Linked DNA regions of Homo sapiens: regions 2, 3 and 4 are each linked to region 1. Evidence: promoter capture Hi-C in 16 types of primary human blood cells and fetal thymus (Javierre and others, 2016). All regions are on one chromosome and are shown on one strand. Each heading gives the region's core, a stretch centred on a gene start or on the middle of the fragment in contact. The rest is flanking DNA. Distances are from core to core; before and after follow the strand shown.

Region 1 (5,600 bases), core at 2,216-4,715:
TTTTAAGATACTTTGTATTTTGAAAGGAATTTAATGTTTTGGAAGAGTCTTAGTCTTAGAACCTATCAAAATAGGGCTTCTTCATTTTGCTTTCAAAAAGAATCATAAGATGATTGCAACCACTGGGAAAAGATAAAGCCAATTCACTAACCTGGGAGCATCTGAAAAATCAACTCCTGAGCTCCACCCTTCAAGAGATTCTGATTTAATTGCCCTGAACAAGGCCTAGGTCTGGGACTTTTTTTTTTTTTTTTTTTTGAGACAGAGTCCCACTGTGTCACCCAGGCTGGAGTACAGTGGTGCAATCACTACTCACTGTAATCTCCACCTCTCAAGTTCAAGCAATTCTCATGCCTCAACCTCCCAAGTAGCTGGGATTACAGGTGCCCACCACCACAACCAGCTAATTTTTCTATTTTTAGTAGAGACTGGGTTTCGCCATGTTGGCCAGGCTGATCTCAAACTCCTGACCCCAAGTGATCCACCCACCTCAGCCTCCCAAAGTGCTGGGATTACGGGTGTGAGCCACCACCACTTCCAGCCTACAGGTCTGGGTATTTTTTGAAATCTCCCCAGTGTTTCACTGGCCATGTGAAAATCAGACTCCAGGACATGAGTCTCATATATACTTCTGTTGGAGTATTTATCACTTTATACCATCAATACTCATGAGCATATCTCCCTCTCTGTAGTGGTAGTTTCTGAAGGGCTGGGAGAGGACTGTCAAAACCCAAAGTGCCTACCATTAACCCACCTCCTTCTGAGGGACCATCCTCTGTGGAGGGAATGTGGGGAGGAACTCTAGGAAGTATCTCAAGCAAAGGTGGCCAGGCTGTGTACTCTGTGATGCCAACAACCTGGACATGAATGATTGGCCCAGGATAGGCACCTGCCCCCAGGTCTGCGGATATACAGGGTGTTTTGCAACCTGTAAGGAGACTGATACAAAGGCTCAGTCCAACTCTCACCCCTGGTGAATCCCTAGCAGGACAAACTAGATCCTTTCACTAAAGGAGTTTAAATGTGAGATCAACTGAGAGCTGAGCAGTTGGTAGCAGGAGCAGAAGCCAAAGGACACCCAGGGGAAAACAGCGAGAGAGGAGCTGAATCACCTTGGCGGCTAAGCCGTTAGTGGGGATCGGCAGATGCCTGCTGCTGAGGGGGCAGCGAGATAACCCAGTCACAGAGCTGTATCCTGAATGACCTTCCAGTTCCTGAACTTCAATCCAGTTTTCATGAGGCCTGGCTGGGTGGCCTTTCCGGAAGGCTTTTCGGAGACACGTGGCGGAATGGTGGAGATTCCGGTCAGCCTTCCTTCCACAGTAAATTCCCATTACTGAGGGTAAACCTCAGTGGTATCTGTTCCTTGCAACCCCCGCCCCCCGCCCAAAAAAAAAGCCCAATCAGCACAATGCCCAGGGCCTAGCACTTTGCCTGGCACACAGCAAGTGCTAGATATTTGCAGGTGCTTGGACGGGCTGATCATCCCCAGCAAAAAGCCCTCTAAAAATAAAGAAATCATTCAGAGTAAGAACATTGATGAGGGTCGTCTTCAAATTCCAAAAACAATGCTAAACGGCAATAAATATATTAAGCTTATTCTGCCCTCTAATTTCTGAATCTAACTACATTTCTACCATAAATCTATCAAAGAGGGAAATGTCATTTTCTGCAGAACTCCAGAGAGCATCCTAATTTCAGCTAAGGTATGTTTTGATGACTCGATTTTCACTTCGCTTAATCTTAAATCACAGCAACGTTAGTAAGAACAATTTTCCTCCCACACTCGCTTCACTGACAAACCTGCAAAGTAGCTGATCTTTGACTTTTAAGAAGTTTAATAATACATGATCTTCCCCCCACACTGCCACACGCATTTCCCCTGCCTATTGTCTGTATCAGCTACTTGAAGAACACATACTCCCCAACAACCGGATGAGTCATAAAATAAGAGGTACATGGACGTAAACTGAGCCTGTTTACACTTTCCCTGGCCCCAGCTAATAAAATAAAAGAGGTCCCACTGAATTCAGGTCCAATGGCTTCCGGAAAACAGGTTTCTGCTTAGCAAAGACATGCCCTATTTAGTACATTATTTTAGAGGTACAGCCAATTCCATGCCCCATGTGAATGAAATGTATTTATGGTTATAGCCATGCACAGGGTGTGTAAGGACTTGCCCTCCTCCTGTCCTCTACAAAAGAAGGCTCAGGCAGCTTCTGGTGGTGAACTAACCAACAAAAGGAATGCCCAGAAGGTCTCACCTCTCCCATCCACAGAGCTCTGGAATGGGGGCCGGGCCCCTGATCGCTGGAAACTCAGCATCCAAGTGGGCGCTTGCTGAAGTTTCCCATCTGCATTTTCGAAAATCTGGATAAAAGCAGGTTTAGCTCAACCTCCCCTAACCCGTTCCTGATAAAGTGATCTTACGCCTCTGGAATTGGGATTTTGAATGTATGTGCCTGCCCCATGTCTGGTATTAGATTACAACAGCATGAAAATGGAGCCTAGGACTGAGGAGCCGGCCAGCCTCAGAAGCCTTCTTCATTGCCTGCCATGTAATACATGATATGCAAAGCCTCTGACTTCAGCCAGCAGATATTTGGAGACCGTGTTGGCCTTAGCATGGGGACTAAACTAATGTGTGTTTAGGTCAGAAAGCGAATCAGAAAAGCCACTGGAGGGCACGTCACGGAGTGAGAGCCCTATAAATTCATCCCCACTCGCAGCGTCCCCTGGCAAATACTCGGCTTCCCTCACCCGGCCGCTCCGCACCTCTCCTTCTCGGTGCTAGAACTCCGGCCGGCAGCTCCTTTTCTCGCCACTGCCTCCTGCCCTGCGGAGAAGCGAGAGGGCGAGACACCCGAGCGGGAAGGCCGGCCTTCGACAGGCGCGAGGAAAGCCCGGCGCTGCCCTGCACCGGCAGAGCGCCACCCTCCCAGTGCGGCGCGCGGGGGCAAAGCCCGGCGCGGGCGCCGCGGTCAAGTTCGGATTGCCCCTTTCGGCTGGCCCGCGCAGAGCGCCGCACATTCCTCTCGATTTTTGATCCACCCGGAGAGGAGAAGGCGCTAGCCCCGCGGCGTCTCCGCGCTCTCAGCGCTCTCCCTGCAGCCCAGGGAGGGGCGCCTCGCGTCGCCCACTCGCACCCCGGCCCCCCGCCTCGGGAACTCCAGGGCCTCCTCGCTGCTCTCCTCTCCTCCCCCACCGCCAGGCCCAGCCGACGCCTCCCGACCCCTCCCTCCCGGGGCCCCGCGCCTCCCCTCCCCCACCCCGGACCCCGGACCCCCAGCCCGGGCTCTAGAAGACCAGCCTGCGCTCCTGGCGCCCTCATGTCTTCACGGGACTCCCCGCGCCGGTTGACGTGGTGTCTCGTTCGGATCTCCAGGCAAGACCTCAGCTCCGGCAGCAGCATCAGACAAACCAGTCTCGTGCTCCCAGGCAGTGCGCCCAGAGGAGGCGCAGAGCGCGGCAGCTGCCGCTGAGCCGCCCGCAGCGCCCCGGGCCCGCGCAGCCCCAGCCAAGAGCGCGACGCGCGCAGCCCTGTCAGCCCCCCACCCAAAGCAGCGGCGGCTGCTCGGACCTCGGCTTCTGGGGGTGCGGGGGCCCGGCGGGAGAGTTGCCGGCAGCCCTCGCCCTGTTGGCGGCGGCGGCGGCGGGAGTCTTGGCCGCCGCCTCCAGCGCGCCCTTGCTGCCCCGCGCGACCCCAGGATTGCGAACTCTTGCCCCTGACCTGTTGGGCGGGGCTCCGCGCTCCAGCCATCAGCCCGGATGGGTCTCCTGGCTGGGACTTGGGGCACCTGGAGTTAATGTCCAACCTAGGGTCTGCGGAGACCCGATCCGAGGTAAGTGAGGGAGCGGGCCGGGGAGCAGGGAGCGGGTGGTGCCTGCGTCGCGGGTGGGTGCGGCCGGCTGAAGGGCGCCCTAGTCAGAGGGGTGCGTCTGGACCCCAGAGCAAACGGTGAGAGTAGAAAGTGGAAAGACTAGAGGGAACCTAAGCTATGCGAGGAGAGAGAAAAGTAGAACCGGAGAGAGGCCGGCCTTTCGGAGGGGCATGTTGCCTTTTCCACGTGGGCAAAGATCTGTGGAGCCCCAGATGCGCCTGGACCCGGAATGCCCAAGAGGGGCAGTTTCCTTCCCCGACTCGGCCAGGTGCTCTTCCGTCAAGTCACAGAACGATTCAGGGCTTGGGTCATCTTCGAACCCACCGCCGTCGAAATGTGTCCTCTCTGGACGTGCAGAGATACTATCATTGCCAAGAGTGCAACTTACTATTGAGCTTGTTTTGATCTGTGCCAAGGAAAAGCGCAGGCCGGGGGAGGGGCTGCTGCAAAGGTGCTGAGAACCTAAAAATGGAGGGCTCACCTCCTCCGGGCGAGGTCTGGCAAAGCTACATTCCTCACCCGGTTGCCTGCACGTTCCTAACGCCCTCCACCCCAACTAACCATCCCCGTCGAGGTTAGGAGAGGGGCTTTCTTGCCAGTCCTGGATTCAAATCTCTGTCTCGAACGTATTCTTGAGACTCCACTAGGCCATTGAGGTTATTATTTTAATGACCCCTTTTTCTCCTGTACTCTGTGCCGCCTTCCAAAAACACCCCACCACCACTGCCACTACTTTACACCACCTCGAGGCTAATTCCGCACTGGTGGTTTGTTTCCTGCCCCAACGAAGAAAAACGAACCCTCTTCGGGCTGGAAACGGACTTTCGCGGGTTCCCGCCAGCTTCCTGGGGCCCAGCTAGTTTCGGCTTTGGTAGAATCCGCCGCCAGGACCCATGTGCGCGCCCCCGGGGGGCTTACCCATCCCAGAGCTCGCGACCCTTCTGCTCATAGGCGGGGACAAAGGCAACTCTTCCGGCCCCTGCTGCGGAGATGTTAGAACGCGCTCGACTCTTGCTCAGTGTTTGGAATATATGCTTAGGTATTTCAAGGAAGAGATGTTTCTTCCAACCTCATTCACGCACCCAGTCCCGCAAAGCCGTCAAAGCCGGCCTCGACCAAACTCGTACTGTTTCGCTGCGCCTTCGCTTTGTCAGGGAAGGTGGCGCCTTTTCAACAAGTAACAAGTGTCCGATCTCTGGGAAGTCCGCCGTGTCCCTAGCCCTTTCCCGCTAGCAATTCGGGTGCTCTCGGGCCTGGAACCTGGCCCTTTAAACAGACCGCTTTCCCAGTTTGCCTGCGAGAAGTGTCCCAAATTCTTTTTCCTTCCCTCATCTTGGGCCCCGCAGTTATGGGGGGTTGAGGGGAGAATAAGTCCTCTGTCAGTCAAGGACACGAAGCATAGTTAAGAAAAGCAATAGATCTTCCAGCAATTTCTGTCTCTACCTCCCCCCGCCAAAAAAAAAAAAAAAAAAACCGAGTTTATAGCAAACCCGTCTCCCCGCCCCACCGCCTCCTTTTTCTCTCTCTGAGACCTGGATCTTGAAGGCAAAGCCCAAACAAACCTCCCAGCCTGCCAGGCACAAGAAGGTGCGGGGGCACTGACGGCGGGAGCGCTGCCTCCTGCGAATCTGTCACGGTGACGCGTGGAAGGGGTGAGGGATGGTCTGAAAGCAGGTTGCCAAGAAACCCGCTCAGGTGAAGTGGGGAGAGGAAAACCAG
Region 2 (5,600 bases), core at 1,301-3,800, 350 kb before region 1:
CATTCACGACCAGCAGAGGGCAGGCACGACCTCCTAATACACCGGGAAGGCCATTTTGCCAGCACCAGGAATAAAGGCGCCCTTGCCATCTGTAACCTCAACCATCTCTCTCAACCACTGTAGACCTAATTGCCATGATAAAAACAGATCTGTATGAGCTTTGTAGTCACACGGTCTTGGTTAAATCGCAGCTCTGCCACGTATTAGCTGTGTGACCTTCAACAACCTACATAACCTCTCTGAGCGCGTTTCTTCCTCATTTCTAAAGTGGGACTATTAATAATACCTACTTCATAGGCTTCTTGTGAACATTTAATCAGTTAATATATGCAAGGCACTCAGAACAGAGCCTAGCACATGGTAACCTATTATATTTATTGTTATTACTAATAGTATTGCATTAAACTCTTTCATTCTCTCTCTCAGGACTCCAACTAAAGTGTCCAAGGAGAAGGGACACCACTCAAGAGGAAGGAAGAAAAAGGCTTTGGTGAGTCTCAGGCCACCCCAGGAATCTCTGGGTGATGGAGAAGGGAGCTACAGAGATGTCTCTGCTCCAGCAGAAGAACAGAAAGATGGTTCTAACCTGGGGTGAGAGACACCAAATGAGCTAAGCTTTCCTGTTTCATTCTTTCCCTAAAGGCAGTAAGACCTGAGCTTGGGCGGTGGGAAGGTCCGCAGACATCTGGTACAAGAAGGGCTCCAGGCAAGCAAAGAGCTGTTCCTCCCAGCTGCATTCAAGCATGGTGCAATTAGCTGCAGCCTGGGGGATCGTCACGAACCTGGCCACCTGGGCACCTCTCCTCAACATCTGGGTGAAGGACAAAGGGAAGGCACAAGCTCCGAAAAAGAGGCCTTGGAGGTTATTTTACAACAAGAGTGGCAGAGGCCAGGGAAGCATGTGGGTGTTCTAGCTGCTTTTAGCAAAGCCATTCATGTGGTAGCTAGAAGTGATGAGGCCCTGGCCGTGTGGTGGGCAGGCAGGGGCAGGGATCCATGGCAGAAAGAAGAGGGTACACTTTCCTGGAGATGTTTCCAAAACCCCTGGGTAGGGATCTTGAGGTGAGCTCTGGTAAGCGTCTTGAGGACAAGGACCACATCTTATCCAGCCTTGTAGAGTAGCAACTGTTCGGGTCATAGGCTGTGAATAAATATTCCAACTCTATCTCCTTCTGACACATGATAGGATGGCACTTCCCTGCTCACTGGAAGTCGATGTGGCCATGTGACTTTCTGTGGCTAATGAAAGGTAAGCAGAAGCTTTCAGAGCCAATGCAGACTCTACCATATTTTTTTCCTGAGCAGGCAGCTAAGGGCTCCTCCAGGAGCCTGTGTCCCTGTGTGACTCTGATGAGCAGAGTGCCCCCTAGGCTGACTTGTGGCTGACATGCAGCCATTGAAATGTCAGGTTACTGTTTGTTTGTTACAGCAGCAGACCCCAGCCTGTCCTGATTTAGACAGCAGCTCACCTTTGTGTAGCCCTCTGTCACATCCAGCATGGCTTTTTCACACTGCATCACCTCATCTGATCCTCTGGAAAGCATGTGAGGTAGGTCTGTTATCCCAATTTACCAGCTGAAACTGGATCCCTGAAAGCTTAAGTATCCAAGGTTCCAGAACAAAGTGACAGAGCTGGGAATCCAACCCAAGCCCCAGGACGCCAAATCCCATGCTGTTCCTCCCCCACCATCCTCCCTAGTGTGATGACACTCAACAAATGGGTACCGACTGAAATTGAAATGATAATACTGGCCCGCACAGCTGCAATCATCATCATCATAGCACTTTCACGAGGGCAATGCTTTTTCTTGGTGTCATGAACACATAATGTAGGATCGCCAGTTTTATAAAGAGCAAAGGTTAGTAAGAAGTGATGTCTACAGTGTCTTACATGAAAGTTAGACATCAGACATTGCCTAGGGAAGGCTCTTACTGGGACGAATGATCTAACATTTATTGTAGTGTTTTGTTTTTTTTTTTTTTTTTTTAGACAGGGTCTTGCTCTGTCACCAAGGCTGGAATGCAATGGCACAATCTCGGCTCACTGTGACCTGTGCCTCCCAGGTTCAAGCTATTCTCCTGCCTCAGCCTCCTGAGTAGCTGGGATCACAGGTGCATGCCACCACGCCCAGCTAATTTTTGTATTTTTAGTAGAGACAGGGTTTTGCCATGTTGGTCAGGCTGGCCTTGAACTCCTGGCCTCAAGTGATCTGCCTGCCTCAGCCTCCCAAAGTGCTAGGATTACAGGTGTGAGCCACTGCGCCAGGCCTATTGTAGTACTTTGAAAATCAGCTTCTGTAATTAACATTCTCCATGGCTCTGGCACTCTCCTCACACCACTCTGCTCCCCACAAAGTCCCTAACCACAGTTCCCCTGACTCTGAGCTCCTGCATTCTTTCTATCTAAACTCTCCGTCAGTCATAGTTACCTGTTCTAGGGCCTCAATCACTCAGGGCCCATTTTTTTTTTCTCCTGGGAAACCAGCAACCTACTCCAGCTAACTCATGCAAAGGCTGATGGTATGTTATTGCTGCGACTTGTCACACTTGTGTTTTAGCCTGGCTCTCTAGTCCAGCAGTGGGATTTCAGAGCAGCTCACAGGCTGCTAGGGGAGCTATCTCAGCACCGGCCGACTTTTGATTACACCTCAAATCACATCCTGTTGTTGGCAGCCAATTCTACTTAGCCTAAGACCGCTTTCTGCATCCATCCATCCTTCACTGCTGACTTTAAAGGGATCAAAAGAGCCCTGTGTATTTTTCTAATCTCCCTAATCCTCGTAACTATTCCTGTGAGGATGCAGGTATCATCACTACCATTTTTCAGATGAAACGAAGGCCCAGAAAGTTTTAGTGACAGACCCAAGGTCACCCCTGTGAGCCGGTGGCAGAGATGGGAATGGAACTCAGACCGGCTGGTCTCCCAGGCCATCAGTCTCCATTAGACCCTGCTGTCTCGCTGAATTCCCCCTGCAGTTTTAATTGAATATCATGTTCTTCTTCACTTCCTGCCCTAAACAGGGCAACAGCTGCCGCTCACCCTCCTGAGCCGGCTGGCGGTACTTCAGTGGTGGGTGAAGTTATGCTGGGGTGGAAAGCGGGTGAAGCGTTTCAGGATAAAAGGACCCATCAGATTGGAAGATATTCACGACGGTATAAAAGGGATGCCCTGACTTTCAAATGACATCGTGTTGGGGACCAGGCTAAGAGGGAAACTGCTTGGGAGGGTGAGTATGGGAGTTGGAAGGATGGGACACTGTGGAGGAGAAAAAAAGATGCGTGTGTAATTGGATGGAAACTTTCGGCAAAAAAATAAATAAAACCATGGAGCACTGTTATTGGTGAGAGGCCCAATATGCGACATGGCTGAACTGTCCTGGGTTCATGTTCTTTTCTTGAGAACAATGCTTAGGGTTTCAAGGGGATTAAAAGCAAGAGGACTAAGATTCGCTTTGCCCCATTCCATCTGCTGCACAGTTTCTACAGCAGCAGTTCTAAAGCTTTCGGGTGCAGCAGAAGGACCTGGGACACTCGGTAAAAGTATTGGTTTCTAGCCCTCTCCTGAGAGACTGTGGCTCAAGAGAGTTTGTAATTGTCTTGTAGGGCACACTTAGGGGAAGGCAATCAACGGTCATCCAGCTTCAAGAACTTGTGCCCCTGCCTCTCATATACATTTTGGAAAGGTCTTTTCCTTTGGGAATCAGAGGAGGAGGTCTGCAGGGGAGTGGCTTGTGTCTACAGCTGCTAAAAACAAACAAACAAAAAAAACCAATAACTCTACTCCGCAAATGTGAGGTTTGGGTAAGCATAGAGCAGCCTGCTGTCTTTGTCGTGGTCACCACCATCAAAGCATTTGCAGGAGCCTGTCTGCAGGTGGAGTGAGGCTCCTAATTACACTTCAGGGCACAAGAACCTGTGAGGAGAGGGGAATCTTGCCCTTGGAAATATGAGCGGTTTGGTCCAGGCCAGGAGGAAATTGAAAAACTTTCCAACCAAAACGTTTACTTCCCGAAGAGATAAAAAGAAGCTCAGGGTCATAAATCCGGGCCAACACCCAGGCCCCGGAGGTCAGACGGGAGGCCCAGAGGCGGATCAAGGCAAGGAATGCAAGGCGAGAGTCCCCGGCCAGTAGGGAGCCCCAAACACACAGATCCAGGGGCTCAACAGGCACCCAGCGGACAACCCTCAGAGGCCCAGGGCTCCGGGGGCTCAGGCCACTTGTCTGTGGCTAGGCAGCAGGGCCTTGGAGAAGCCTCCAGCCCAGACCCCCCTGTGCTAGCTGTCTGCCCTCTCTATGTGTTGCAGAGTTACATATTTTCTGGAACCCTCCTTAGACATGTTCACGGAAAAAAAAGCAAATAATCAGGGAAGATGGTATAAAGAACTGGCAGTCTCTGTTTTCTCAGCCAAGAACCTGAGCAGAACCAGGCCAGCTGACCAGGTGCCCAGCTTCAATTCCCAGAGGGGGGCTGTCTGCCCAGCTGTGCCCCGTGCCTGGCAAATGGGTGCCTAAGGAGGCAGCCATCGTTATTCTCAGGAACCTATGAAGGGCTCAGGATATCATGAATTATGACTGCCACAGCGAGGACTGAATGATGACTCAGGACACCTTTTGCTGTTAAGTTCCATTTGCGGGCGCTTCTCATTTTCAACAAGCAGAAATTCCTCCTCTGGGGACTGTTTCCCATGCTCCCACTCATCTCAAAGTCTCAGTTACCCCAAAGTTATGAAAATATGCAGAAAGGTGTCAGAGCCAGGGAAATGTGGTCAGAGTAGAACACAGGCTGGTGGGGAGGAGGGCATTTCCAAGGGCAAAATGTGGGCCCACTGGTATTAAAACTTCTCTATTTCCTACATTTTACTTTCTACAGCTAAAGTGTGAAGCAAATCATTGTCCTGTGACCTGAGGGGAGGGTGGAGAAGCTTTAAATGATTTAAACTTGAAACTTGTTCCCCTCCAAACAAAAATGGCATTGTAATGTTAGATAAGTTCTTTACCCTTTCTAGGTCTCAAATTTTTCTCCCCATAATGTAGCTTCCATTTCATCTGGTAAGCAAATCCTGAATTTTAACTGCCTCAGAAGGACCTTGAGCTCTGTGCTTGAAAGGCAGCAAAAGCCGAGTGCAATATTAATGTATAATTATTTACAATACAACCACAAACTCAATTTAAAAGCCAGTTGAAGTGTAAGGAGCAAACCACAAAGATACAGGTAAACATTTAAAGTGGAGACATCACGGTTCAACAAAGAATTGATTCTCTTCTAGAGCAATCATCTCTAAAGCCCATCTCACATTTCTGAAATGCTGTTACAAATAAAACAGAAATCAGGACAAGAGGAGGTGACAAGAGGCAGGAAAAATGCCAATGATCTGGATTTGGCCAACTTCCTGATGGTGGGCATGTCATCCCGTCACTCTGGCCCTTGCTTTCATCGTGTTTTTTGTCTAAATTGCAGCCAGAAAACACATAAGCTTACCCTCTTAACCATTTTCTAGTGTACAGTATTGTTAACTATATGCCATGCACATTGTTGTATAACAAACAGAGCTCTAGAAAGTTCATTCGGCATGACTGAAACCCTATACCCATTGAATAG
Region 3 (5,600 bases), core at 1,866-4,365, 350 kb after region 1:
GCTGTTCTATGTCTTTACAATTCTACTGAAGGCCCTATCCCAATATCTCCCAATACAAAACTAGGAAATGTCTCTGCTAATAGATGGAGGCATTATTCATTTCCTATCTAAAGCTACCACTTGTAAATACAGCTGCATATGAGCTCATTCTTATCCCTTCCATTCCCAGTGCAAAAGTACTCCAGCCAGACGTGGTGGCTCACACCTGTAATCCCAGCACTTTGGGAGGCCAAGGTGGGTGGATCATTTGAGGTCAGGAGTTTGAGACCAGCCTGGCCAACATGATGAAACCTCATCTCTAATAAAAATACAAAAATCAGCCAGGCATGGTGGTGGGCACCTGTAATCCCAGCTACTTGGAAGGCTGAGGCAGGAGAATTGCTAGAACCGAGGAGACAGAGGTTGCAGTGAGCAGAGATCACGCCACTGCGCGACAGAGTGAGACTCCATCTCAAAAAAAAAAAAAAAAAGTATTCCTTCCTCCTACCCAAAAGCTAACTCCTGCTCTTTGTTTGATCACAATCCCTAACAACTCCTCAAGGACTTTCATCATTACTTAATATGTTTGGTTTTTACAGAACTGCATTAGTTTTCTATTGCTCTGTAACAAATTACCAAAAACCTAGGGACTTAGTACACCCCCGATTTATTACCTAACAGCTGCGTAGGTCAGAAGTCTGGCACAACGTAGCTAGATTCTCTGCTCAGGATCTCACAGACTGAAATCAGGATGTTAGTAGAACTGTACTATTTTCTAGAGGTTCTGGGAAATAATCTGCTTCTAAGTTTATTCTGGTTGCTGGCACAATACAAGTTCCTTGTGGTTGTAGAACTGTGATCCCTATTTGCTTGCTGCCTGTCAGCTGGGGCTACTCTTAGCTTTCTAGACCCTATGTGCAATCTCCATTAGATGCAACATGAGAAAGATTCTCCTTTGCTGACCCTGAAGATGGAGGGAACTATGTGGCAAGGAATGCATTAGGAATGCTGACCTAGTAGCGTGCAGTCTTACTGACACCCTGATTTCAGTCTGTAAGACCCTCAGCAGAGAAATGTAGCCACATTGTGACAGACTTCTGACCTAAACAGCTGTTAGGTAATAAACTGGGGGTGTCCTAAGTCCCTGGTTTTTGGTAATTTGTTACAGAGCAATAGAAAATTAATGCAGTTCTGTAAAAAACAAACATATTAAGTAATGATGAAAGCCAAACCCACAAATCTTTGCAAAACAACCTGTTCTTTATCTATAGCTGTTGTTTAACTTGTTAAGGAGCAATACTCTTAAGTTTCCTAGAGATCACCTGGTTTGGTTAAGAAGATCTGTGAGGCACGCCCTTAATTTCTTGGAAGAGTCCAGTGTGACTGAATACTCTCATCTTTTGATCTTTCTGAAGTTATTATACAGCCACATCCCTGGCTTTCTCCATACCATGCTTTCAGAAGTTATTGCTATATGTTAGCATCCTTTGTCATCTTGATAGGCTAAAAATTAACTAAATCATCTAGTCTTGGTTCCCTTTTAACAAAACTTCCCTTGGTTTTCTCATATTTTACTATACGGAGCAAGAAGAAACCAGGCAGCACCTTCAACATTTTGCTTAGAAATCTCCTTGCCTATATATTCAAATTCATCATTCACAAGTTCTGGTTTCATCTTCAAAACCAGCAGCAGAGAATCTCCCTGACATCAAGTCCCTCCTACACTTAGAATACCTTTTGCCAGGAAGAGCCCAACTGCTTTTAAGTGCTCACCTGATGAGGCTGGATCCACTGAAGACAATTTTCTTTCTTAAAGTCCATTGTGTCACACAATGTAATCATAGGAGTGACTAGCCCATTATACTTATAGTTCAAAACTACATTCAAGGAGAAGTGCAGGGACTCTTAGGAGCCATCTTAGAATTCACCCTACAACAAGAGCTTTGGGTGTAGCAATTCTGAAACTACTTTCCATGTACTGTAACACTGAACAAATGAGTAAATATAATTATAATGTTAAAAGCCATGTTCTTCACTGTTGGAGAAGTGAATTACGAATATGGAACGGGAAAAGGCTAGAAAGTTGGATTAGAATTAGATGTATCCAAATGAACTCATAATTTTTTACTTATTTTAATTTTTGGATTGGTTTATCTCCCTCCTAGCTTTGTCTTTTGAGGCTAGAAGCAATGACACCCAACAGCAATGAATATAACCAGAGTACCAAATCTTAATTTCTAAATTGACTTCCCTGTTGAATGAAGCCATGGATCACTAGAAAAGTAGGTAGGATCAAATTAGGGAAAGTATAAGATGACCCTGGAACATCTTGTTGTGCCAAAATGTAAGAAAGTACTCCAAAAATGATGGGGACATGTCAAAAGCGCAGAAACCAATGTTAAGAAGTTTCTATTAAAGTTTCTGTAAATATTTAGAAAATGGAAAGAAATAAAATGTACTTCAAATCATTCAATTTTTTAGTTATATCTATTATTAATACCTTAAGTTAACAGTTTTCTTTTGCTCAAGAAAACAAAAATAAACCCAGAACAGTTATTTTAATAAAAATTAAATATTTTAAGTTCTTAAGAGAAAGTATTCACCAGTAAAAAGACATGACTAATATATTTCATCTCCAAATAATAAGTGCCATTTTTTTGGAATAGCTGGGTATCAGAATGACTACACGTACTATTCAAAAATAAATAAAACATCTGAAAACTCTTCTAACTTCCATGACTAAGATCCGCTAATGGAGATATCTCCCACTAAAATGTCCAAGCATTCTGAGGTATCCTGAACCTGCTTTCTCCACCTTAGTCATGTAATTTAAAAATAAATGGCAGAGAATTGCTTTCATGTTGAAAAGAAAAAGAGTTGAAGACAATCCTGGAGAAAGGCACTGAACAATATCAGCTCTAGATGAACTGATAAAAGAAAGCTTATGGGGGACTTCAAGATGGCTAACTAGAAGCACCAGACACTCACCTCCTCTACAAAGAAAAGCTTAATGAGTAGATAATCACACTTCAAATACAGCATCAAAGAGAGAATGTTGGAATTCAGCAGAGAAGTGACAGGCACTGAAGAAAGCAAGGCACAGAGCCCAGCCAGGACCAGCTGGGAGCCCTAAGAGGCTCCTCAGTGTGGGGAAAAGGTGAGTAAAAGATTCCCAGCATCCACATTCTCCCTGTAGATACCTGCAATCCTAGCCATAGCACAGTCCCTTAACCCTGACAAGCTGAGACTGGTATAAACAAGCTTCTAAAGAGGAAGCTCACAATAGGTTCCACGCACACCTGGAAACCCAAGCACCTGCAGCATGGCACGAATTTGAGAGCCCAGACCCCACCAGTCTGTTTTCTTTCTGGGGCCAAACAGTACCTGCATCTCCACATCCCTGGAGGCCCCATGACATCCCCTCATACCCACTGAGAGGGTTGTAGCACATGACACCAGTTGGACCCAGCACAGCAGAAATATCCCCAGCACTCTGGATCACACAGCATCCAGTACACTGAAGAAAGGACAATCCAGAGCCCTGTGGATGCTGCCTCTAGGACAAAGGGAGCCAAAGCCCAGACCCACCTGCCTCAGGTCACTGCCACTGAGAGTAACCTTGCCCACCTACCCCCGGCAACAAAGCCCCAGCACACCCGCACATGCTCTAAGGGCAGGCTCTCCCTGCCTGCTGCTGCAGCCAGGGACCAGAGCCTAAGAATCACCTGCCTGGGGCAGGTACCACAGACAGCAACCCTGCTACCCACAACAGCAGGACTGTGGTACATGTGCCTTGAGGACAGGCTCACCCTAGCCAATGCAGCCAATGCCACAGGGAATAGGGGAAGTGGAGACAAAGCATGTGCTCTCCAGAGACTGAGATGTATCTGCCTGGGATGGCTACCACTGGCATCAATCTCCCTCACCACCACCCCCACCACCTCTGTCATTGAGCCTTCCCCTTAGCAGAGCTGTTCATTTCCACATGCCCTGAGGATAGACTCTCCCTGCCTACTACTGCTGCTGCAACCACCACCCAAGGACACTATCCAGGACATGTTGATCACCCTGCCCTGCCCAACACAGCCTGCATTTGTGCACAACATCAGAGGCCTTAAGGACAAGCTCACAAGGTCTGGCACCAGCAACCCCAGTGCTCTCTATCACACTGCCCAGGGGCCTATGGATTCCCCTGCACCATCAGTCACCTCAGGCACATGCACATAAGGAGACCAAACAGCCCCAGAATGCCTGCCGCACCATAGCACGCCATCTGAAGGCCTAGGAATTGCCCCCGTCCCACCTACCACAGCCTATACCCATTTGGACCATCAGGGGGACCTGATGACAGCCCCAAAATGCCTGACACTGGGGGGAAGGGGGAGGGATAGCATTGGGAGATATACCTAATGCTAGATGACGAGTTAGTGGGTGCAGCGCACCAGCATGGCACATGTATACATATGTAACTAACCTGCACATTGTGCACATGTACCCTAAAACTTAAAGTATAATAATAAAAAAAAAAATGCCTGACACTGTCACCCCCTGAGTGCCCTACCACACCACCCTAGACCTGACAATGTCACCCCAACCAAGTGCCCTACCACACCACCCTACCATATAGCCTAGGATTGCTGTGCCCCACTGGTCACTCCAAGCAGGAGTGTGTACTACCAGATGGCATAATAACAGGCCAGAAAACCTACTGCCAGTGCCTAAGCATGCCATCTAAAGGCCTGGGGGTTCACCCTGCCCAGTCTACCACTGCTTATATCTATCTACACCCCCTAGGGGCTGGAGGACAAGGTTGCTCAGCCTGCCACCACCACCAAACCTGGCACCCAGCTATGTGTACCACCTGGGGGTCTGAAGACCAGGCTGCCCAGTCTGTCACAGCCACCACTAACAACAGTGTGTGCTACCTGGAAGCCCAGGTGTTGCCCTGCCACTATACTGCCATCACCAACACCATGCACAATGCTCAGGGGCCCAACCCACCCACTCAACTCACCACTGCCACTACTGGCACCTCAAAAAGCCACCTGGAGGCTCAAATATCAGCCTGTCTGAACCTACTAACACCAGTGCTCATATACTGTGCGCAAGGGCCCAAGAACAGGGACATTCAGCCCAACATTGCCACCACTGGGGCCAGAAGACTGGCCCACCTGGCATTGCCACACCTAATTAAACCTCACCACAGCCTCCACTAACAAATTCACCTAAGCCTCTGAGGAAAACACAGACACCACTGACAGGGTTTAAAGCCAAAGAAGTCATATGGAGACTACACTACTACACAAATCCAGAATCAATGCTGAAGCGCCCTACCTAACCAACACCATAGATACATCTACAGGAAAAAATATTCCTCTATGAAAGCCAATCCAAAAAACTGGAAGAAGTAACTGTTACAAGAGTTGCACAGATAACAATGTAAGAACACAAGAAACACAAAAAAGCAAGGAAAAGTGACACCTCCAAGGGAACACAATAATTCTCCACCAACAGATTCCAGCGAAAAGAAAATATGAAATGTCTGAAAAAAATTCGAAATCGTAGTCTAAAAGAAGCTCAGTGATATACAAGAGAACACAGATAAACAATACAAAGGAACC
Region 4 (5,600 bases), core at 1,557-4,056, 320 kb before region 1:
ATGACTTCTCTTTGATTTTCTTCCAGCATTGCCCTTGATGCCCACTTTGATTTCATCAGATGTCACTGTTCTGGACTAACTACTTTTGATTGCATATAAAGGAGAAAGGGAAGTAGCATTTGTTGACTCTTCTCTGGTCGATGTGATAGTGTGTTACATAAGTATGTTGTTAACCTTCACAAAGACACTTTGTGATACTGTCATTCTGCTGATTTTACTGATGAGGCAACTGGGACGTGGAGAGATTACAGAACTTGCCAAGGTCTACCATTCAGTAATTGGCCTAGTCAGGCTTTGAACCAAGACCACTGGGGCTTCAAGCCTGCTCTGTACACACAGTCAAGGTGAAGCCAGAATCCTACTGTAACTGGGCAGGATCTGTAATATCATAAGAATTTGGATCCAGCAGCAGGCTTTATTTCAATACTTAACTCACCCAACCTAGTCCTCAAATCCAAGCTTCTTTTCCTGAAACAATTACAAAAAAAAATTTCTGTACTTCAAACTTTGAAACATAATAACAATTAAACAACTTAGTTTCCGTTGTCAGTCTGGTTTCTCTGCCTTAGTGGAAAGTCTAATGGGATATTTTACAAGGATGACAAAGACAGATAATGAAAGTCAAAGCAGTACATAAAGCTTCCTTGAAAGCTTGGTAATTAAAGGCTTTGCATTGTTCTTTAATAACAGTCGTCACCTTTTTACTGCATTGGGATAAAGGCACAAAGTCTGAAATATATTTGCATTTCAGCCACACTCTGAGTGAACGCAACCTCTAGCTTTTCATTCAGAGGAACTGCATTTCAACTTCTGCAGAAAGAAAGACCAAGAGGTAGCTGTTTCTTCCAAAATGCTGGCAGTACGCAAACATTTAGTACACTGGAGATTAGATGCTAATCTGTGAATTCATACCTGTGTTTTAGGGGAGGCTTTAGACTTATAAGAAAGGGCAGACGAAGCCTCGATGTAAAATATAGCCATGGCCTTCCTACCTGAAATGCCTATATCCCACGACCATGGTCCTGGAGCATGTGTGTGTTAATGTGACTCACTGGGGAAAAGTTCAATGTGTTCCTCAACAATGCCTGGTCTATGGAGTAGAGGAAGTAGGAGGCCATGTGCTGTTGAGAAATTTCTGAAACAACATGTCCCAAAGAACTTTTACCCCTGCCTGATGCATGAATTCTGCCATTGAGGTGAGAGGAAAAGGGGGCAAACATTTAACAGGCACTTACTATGTGCCAGGCACTGTGTTAGGCACAGTCTCAAATCTTTTTAATCCTCATCACAACCCTCTGAAGTATTATTCTCTTTTTAGAGATGAGGAAATTGAAGCTAAGACAGGTTAGGTTACTTGCCAAGCATTACATAACCAGAAGGCAGCCTGAGATTTAAATTCACATGTATCGGACTCCCAAATTGAACTCTTTGTCCCCTGTTAAAATGTGCCTGTCCCTGGGAAAGGTGGCACATGAAATCCTATCAGTCATTCACACTGTAGTGTAATGAATTTATCCTATCCTTTCTGAGAAAGTTTCGGTTAAGAAGGCTAAAGGTCTAGATTCCACAAAGGGGAAGAAAATACAGAAGGGAGAGGGTAATGATGATGAAAACATGTATCAGTCACTTCCCAGTTTTGCCTAGCCCTAAATACCTATGGCTGACTTGATAGACGAGGCAAAAGGGGGAAAGGAAGATGTGAAGAACAAAGTCTTTCTTTCACTCTTGTTTTTGAAAAGATAGTTAAGAATAGAGATAGTGCTGTGTTCTAAGAGTGACAACGCTGAGAAGGAACAAAGGGAATTACATGTAATTTAGCTCAGCTGGCCAGGCACGATGGCTCACGCCTGTAATCTCAGCACTTTGGGAAGCCGAGGTAGGCAGATCATGAGGTCAGGAGTTCGAGACCAGCATGGCCAATATGGTGAAACCTTGTCTCTACTAAAAATACAAAAATTAGCCGGGCGTGGTGCTGTGGGCCTGTAATCCCAGCTACTCAGGAGGCTGAGGCAGAAGAATCGCTTGAACCCGGGAGGCAGAGGTTGCAGTGAGCTGAGATTGCACCATTGCACTCCAGCCTGGGCAACAGAGTGAGACTGTCTCAAACAATAATAATAATAATAATAATAATAATAATAATAATAATAATAATAATTTAGCTTAGCCTAATTCAGGATATAAGACCAGCTGATCTAAGTTGGGTTACAGCATAGACATGGGTCTGCAGAGCCTATGGGCTGAGCAGGTCTGAGACTGAATTATGATTTCTCTTGGCCTCTTTCTCAAACTAATCTGCTCAACACCACAGGCTTGGCCTCTGGGATGCAGTGTCATGAGTAAGAGCTGATGACTGGCACTGGCCGTCTCACTTTCTAGCTATGTGACCTCCAGCTGCTGCTGACCGTCCCTGAGACTTCATTTGTAAAACGAAACTCAGAAAGCTTGCCTCACAAGATCACTGTGAGAATTCAGTAGGGTAACGTTCAGGTAGCACTTAGTGAATGGTAACTAATGATACCATATAATCTACAGGCAGGATACATGGGGAATTTTGATCCAGAAAGCTTTGGGGCCAAGTTGACTTTAGCAATCGACAGAGCTTTCACCTGCTACATGGCGTGAACTTGAGGGATGGTGGGAAGGACGTTCAGCTCCAGAGTATCTCCTTTATCTAAAAGCCATAATATCTGAAATTCCACATTCAGGATATATTCCTTTAGCAACTGTCCCAAACATCCTTTTATTAATTCCTTTGATGGGAAGCACATTACGTCAGTAGCTACTAATCCAAGCTGCCCATTGGAATTGTCTTGCGGGTTGGGAGGTAGGGGAAGGTTAAAGAATGCTGATACCCAGCCCTCACCCCAGACCCAAAAAATTAGAACCTCTGGGAGGAGCCCAGGCATTAACAAAAAACAAAAACAAAAACTTTGCCAAGTGTTTCTACCATGTAGCCAGGGCTGAGAACCCCTGTGTTACAGTATTTAATTCTACTAGAATGGAAGCACCAGGAGGCCAAGAAATACAGCATGGCATTCCCAAGCTTCCCACTGTCACTTGGCACAAAAAATAGTTAACTTACGAATTCATCGTTGGTGTTGTTGAATGAAAACAAAGGTGTTAGTGACTCTAAATTCCACCTTAGTGAGAGCCAGAGATGAGATTAAAGACAAGGGACTGGAAGGCACAGAGAGGGAAGTAAGCTCTAGGTCATTACAGAAGAGCAAGTCTCCCTTCTTAGAAAATTCAGCTGCTTGTTACTCTCATGATGATGCTAACAGGAAAGGGCAGATCTCTTGGAAGAAGGGAAGATGCTACACCAGGACTGAAAAAAAGACGCGCCTTTTCGAGTTTCTAGAAGAAACTGAATACAAAGAGAGAAAATTTCCCATTAAGTATTTCAAAAAAATCCATCCGGCAGTTGGAAGAAACAGAAAACAACATGCCCTGAAATCAGAGAGCTCAACCTCCAAATCTCACACCTGCCATTATTAACTACACGACCTCACAGAAGGAGGGAGCTTTTTTCCTGTTTGTTTTTGCTTTGAGACAGAGTCTTGCTCTGTTGCCCAGGCTGGAGTGCAGTGGCGCAATCTCGGCTCAATGAAACCTCTGCCTCCCTGGTTCACGCCATTCTCCTGCCTCAGCCTCCCAAGTAGCTGGGACTACAGGTACATGCCACCATGCCCAGCTTATTTTTGTGTTTTTAGTAGAGACGGGGTTTCACCATGTTGACCAATGGTCTCCATCTCTTGACCTCGTGATCCGCCCGTCTCAGCCTCCCAAAGTGTTGGGATTACAGGCGCGAGCCACTGTGCCCGGCCCCCTGTATTTTTTAAAGCATTTCTGATTCTCAGAGTCTATAAAAGGGGGAGTAATATTGATGATCTCCTAGGGGTGTTGAAGAACACTTGAGAATTGGCTGGCACATATCAGGCGATTGGGGTCTATTAATTCTCTCCTTCTGTCCTCCCTCCTTCCCTCCCTTTCCACCTGACAAACAAAGTTATCAGTTATTCTAGGGATAAATAACTTTTCAAAACTGAGATATCAGACTAGTGATCCCCATATTTCCAAATGCTAATTGTTGTGGGAATTTTAGGGAGAGGTGAAGTGAGCACGTGAATCTTCAAAATAGCAAAAAGGACAGGATTACACAAGAAAGATCAGCTCCGCTAAAAATCAGCCCCATAAGATTGATGGCTGAACCCTGAAATCAACTGTGTGGAAACTGTGCTGACTTTACAGGGAGATTTTCTTCTTTTTCTGAAGTCACAAAGAATGTAAATACTGTTACAATTATCTCTTATTTTAAAATAAGTTCATTAGAAATCAACTATGAAACCGTTTTGTCATGGTAACATTTTAATTGAAAATTTTAATTACTTTCCTAATATCCTCATGGTAAACTTTCTATACATGTAAGTTTTCATCTTGTTTTGGGTTATTGTGGAAACTTTATATTTTTCTAGAATTCTATCTCAATTTCTCTGCAGACTTTTTAGCTGTACCTGTTTGCATTATTATAGTTTTAAATGGTTTCTCCATGGACTAAGATGCATATTATTACTATTTCATGAGGTCAGGAGTTCGAGACCAGCATGGCCAATATGGTGAAACCTTGTCTCTACTAAAAATACAAAAATTATCTGGGCATGGTGGTGCGTGCCTGTAATCCCAGCTACTCAGGAGGCTGAGGCAGGAGAATTGTTTGAACCCAGAGGCGGAGGTTGCAGTGAGCTGAGATCACGCCATTGCACTCCAGCCTGGGCGACAGAGCAAGACTCTGTCTCAAATAATAATCATAATAATAATTTAGTTCAGCCTAATTCAGGATACAAGATCAGCTGATCTATGTAGGGTTACAGCATAGACATGGGTCTGCAGAGCTACTGCAGAGTAACGCCTTAGAGTTACTATTGTACATTACAACTGTCTATAGGTCAATTTTCTCCCACTCTGTACTTTATGATATATTTGTCATATCTATTTGCCTATCTATGTTATACATCTCACAAGACAATGTTAAAATGATGTAATTTTTGCTTTAAACAGTCATATGTCTTTTAAAGAAATTAGGAGAAGACAACTTTTTATATTTACCCAAATATTTACCATTTCTGATGCTTTTCATTCATTCCTAAAGATCGAGGTTTGCCTCTGGTATCATTTCCCTCCTGTCTAATGAGCTCCTTTCCTTCATTTCTGTAGAGCAGATCTGTTGATGACAAATCACCTTTGTTTTCTTTGATCTGAAATTATCTTTATTACACTTACATTCTCAAAGAATATTTCACTGGATATAGATATCTGGCTTGATTGGTGTTGGTTGCAGTGGTTGTTTTTCTTTCAGTACTTTAAAGATTTTTGTCTCATTGTGCTCTTGCCTTCAAGTTTCTGAGAAGAGGGCAGAAAATTTATTCATTCATTATTCATTCAAAGCATTATTTTCTTGTATATAACGTGACACTTTCCTCTAGTCGTTTTCAAGATTTTCCCTTTATCTTTAACTTCCAGAAGGCTGATGTGCCTAGGCTTAGTTTTCTTTGTGCTTATGCCACTTGAGCTTAGCTGGGTAAATCTGGACACTTTCTACTTTT

The links. Contacts are between HindIII fragments. The CHiCAGO score rates a contact against its expected background, and 5 or more counts as called.
Region 2: a contact is called between a fragment that was not itself captured here and the fragment with the promoter of GDNF-AS1 in region 1, in 8 of 17 cell types (M0 macrophages, M1 macrophages, M2 macrophages and 5 more). The highest score is 35.3, in M0 macrophages.
Region 3: a contact is called between a fragment that was not itself captured here and the fragment with the promoter of GDNF-AS1 in region 1, in 1 of 17 cell types (megakaryocytes). The highest score is 6.2, in megakaryocytes.
Region 4: a fragment that was not itself captured here is called in contact with the fragment with the promoter of GDNF-AS1 in region 1 in 1 of 17 cell types (M0 macrophages); the score reaches 5.9 in M0 macrophages.

The regions. Positions count from the first base shown.
Region 1 is chr5:37,837,749-37,843,348 of GRCh38, reverse strand. GDNF-AS1 (GDNF antisense RNA 1) reads right to left here and starts at 3,465. Exons shown (of 4, transcript NR_145476.1): 1 at 3,311-3,465. It overlaps GDNF (glial cell derived neurotrophic factor), which reads left to right and starts at 3,308. Exons shown (of 3, transcript NM_000514.4): 1 at 3,308-3,842. RefSeq lists an enhancer at 3,447-4,384. The HindIII fragment of the contact is 7,909 bases long and covers 1,598-5,600 here.
Region 2 is chr5:38,187,715-38,193,314 of GRCh38, reverse strand. No RefSeq gene overlaps it. Among named protein-coding and RNA genes, the nearest start is that of LINC02119, 42 kb to the right of the region's middle. The HindIII fragment of the contact is 1,904 bases long and covers 1,599-3,502 here.
Region 3 is chr5:37,488,702-37,494,301 of GRCh38, reverse strand. All of the region lies in intron 8 of WDR70 (WD repeat domain 70), which reads right to left. Among named protein-coding and RNA genes, the nearest start is that of WDR70, 110 kb to the right of the region's middle. The HindIII fragment of the contact is 255 bases long and covers 2,988-3,242 here.
Region 4 is chr5:38,159,572-38,165,171 of GRCh38, reverse strand. The region is part of intron 2 of LINC02107 (long intergenic non-protein coding RNA 2107); the gene reads right to left. Among named protein-coding and RNA genes, the nearest start is that of LINC02119, 14 kb to the right of the region's middle. The HindIII fragment of the contact is 479 bases long and covers 2,567-3,045 here.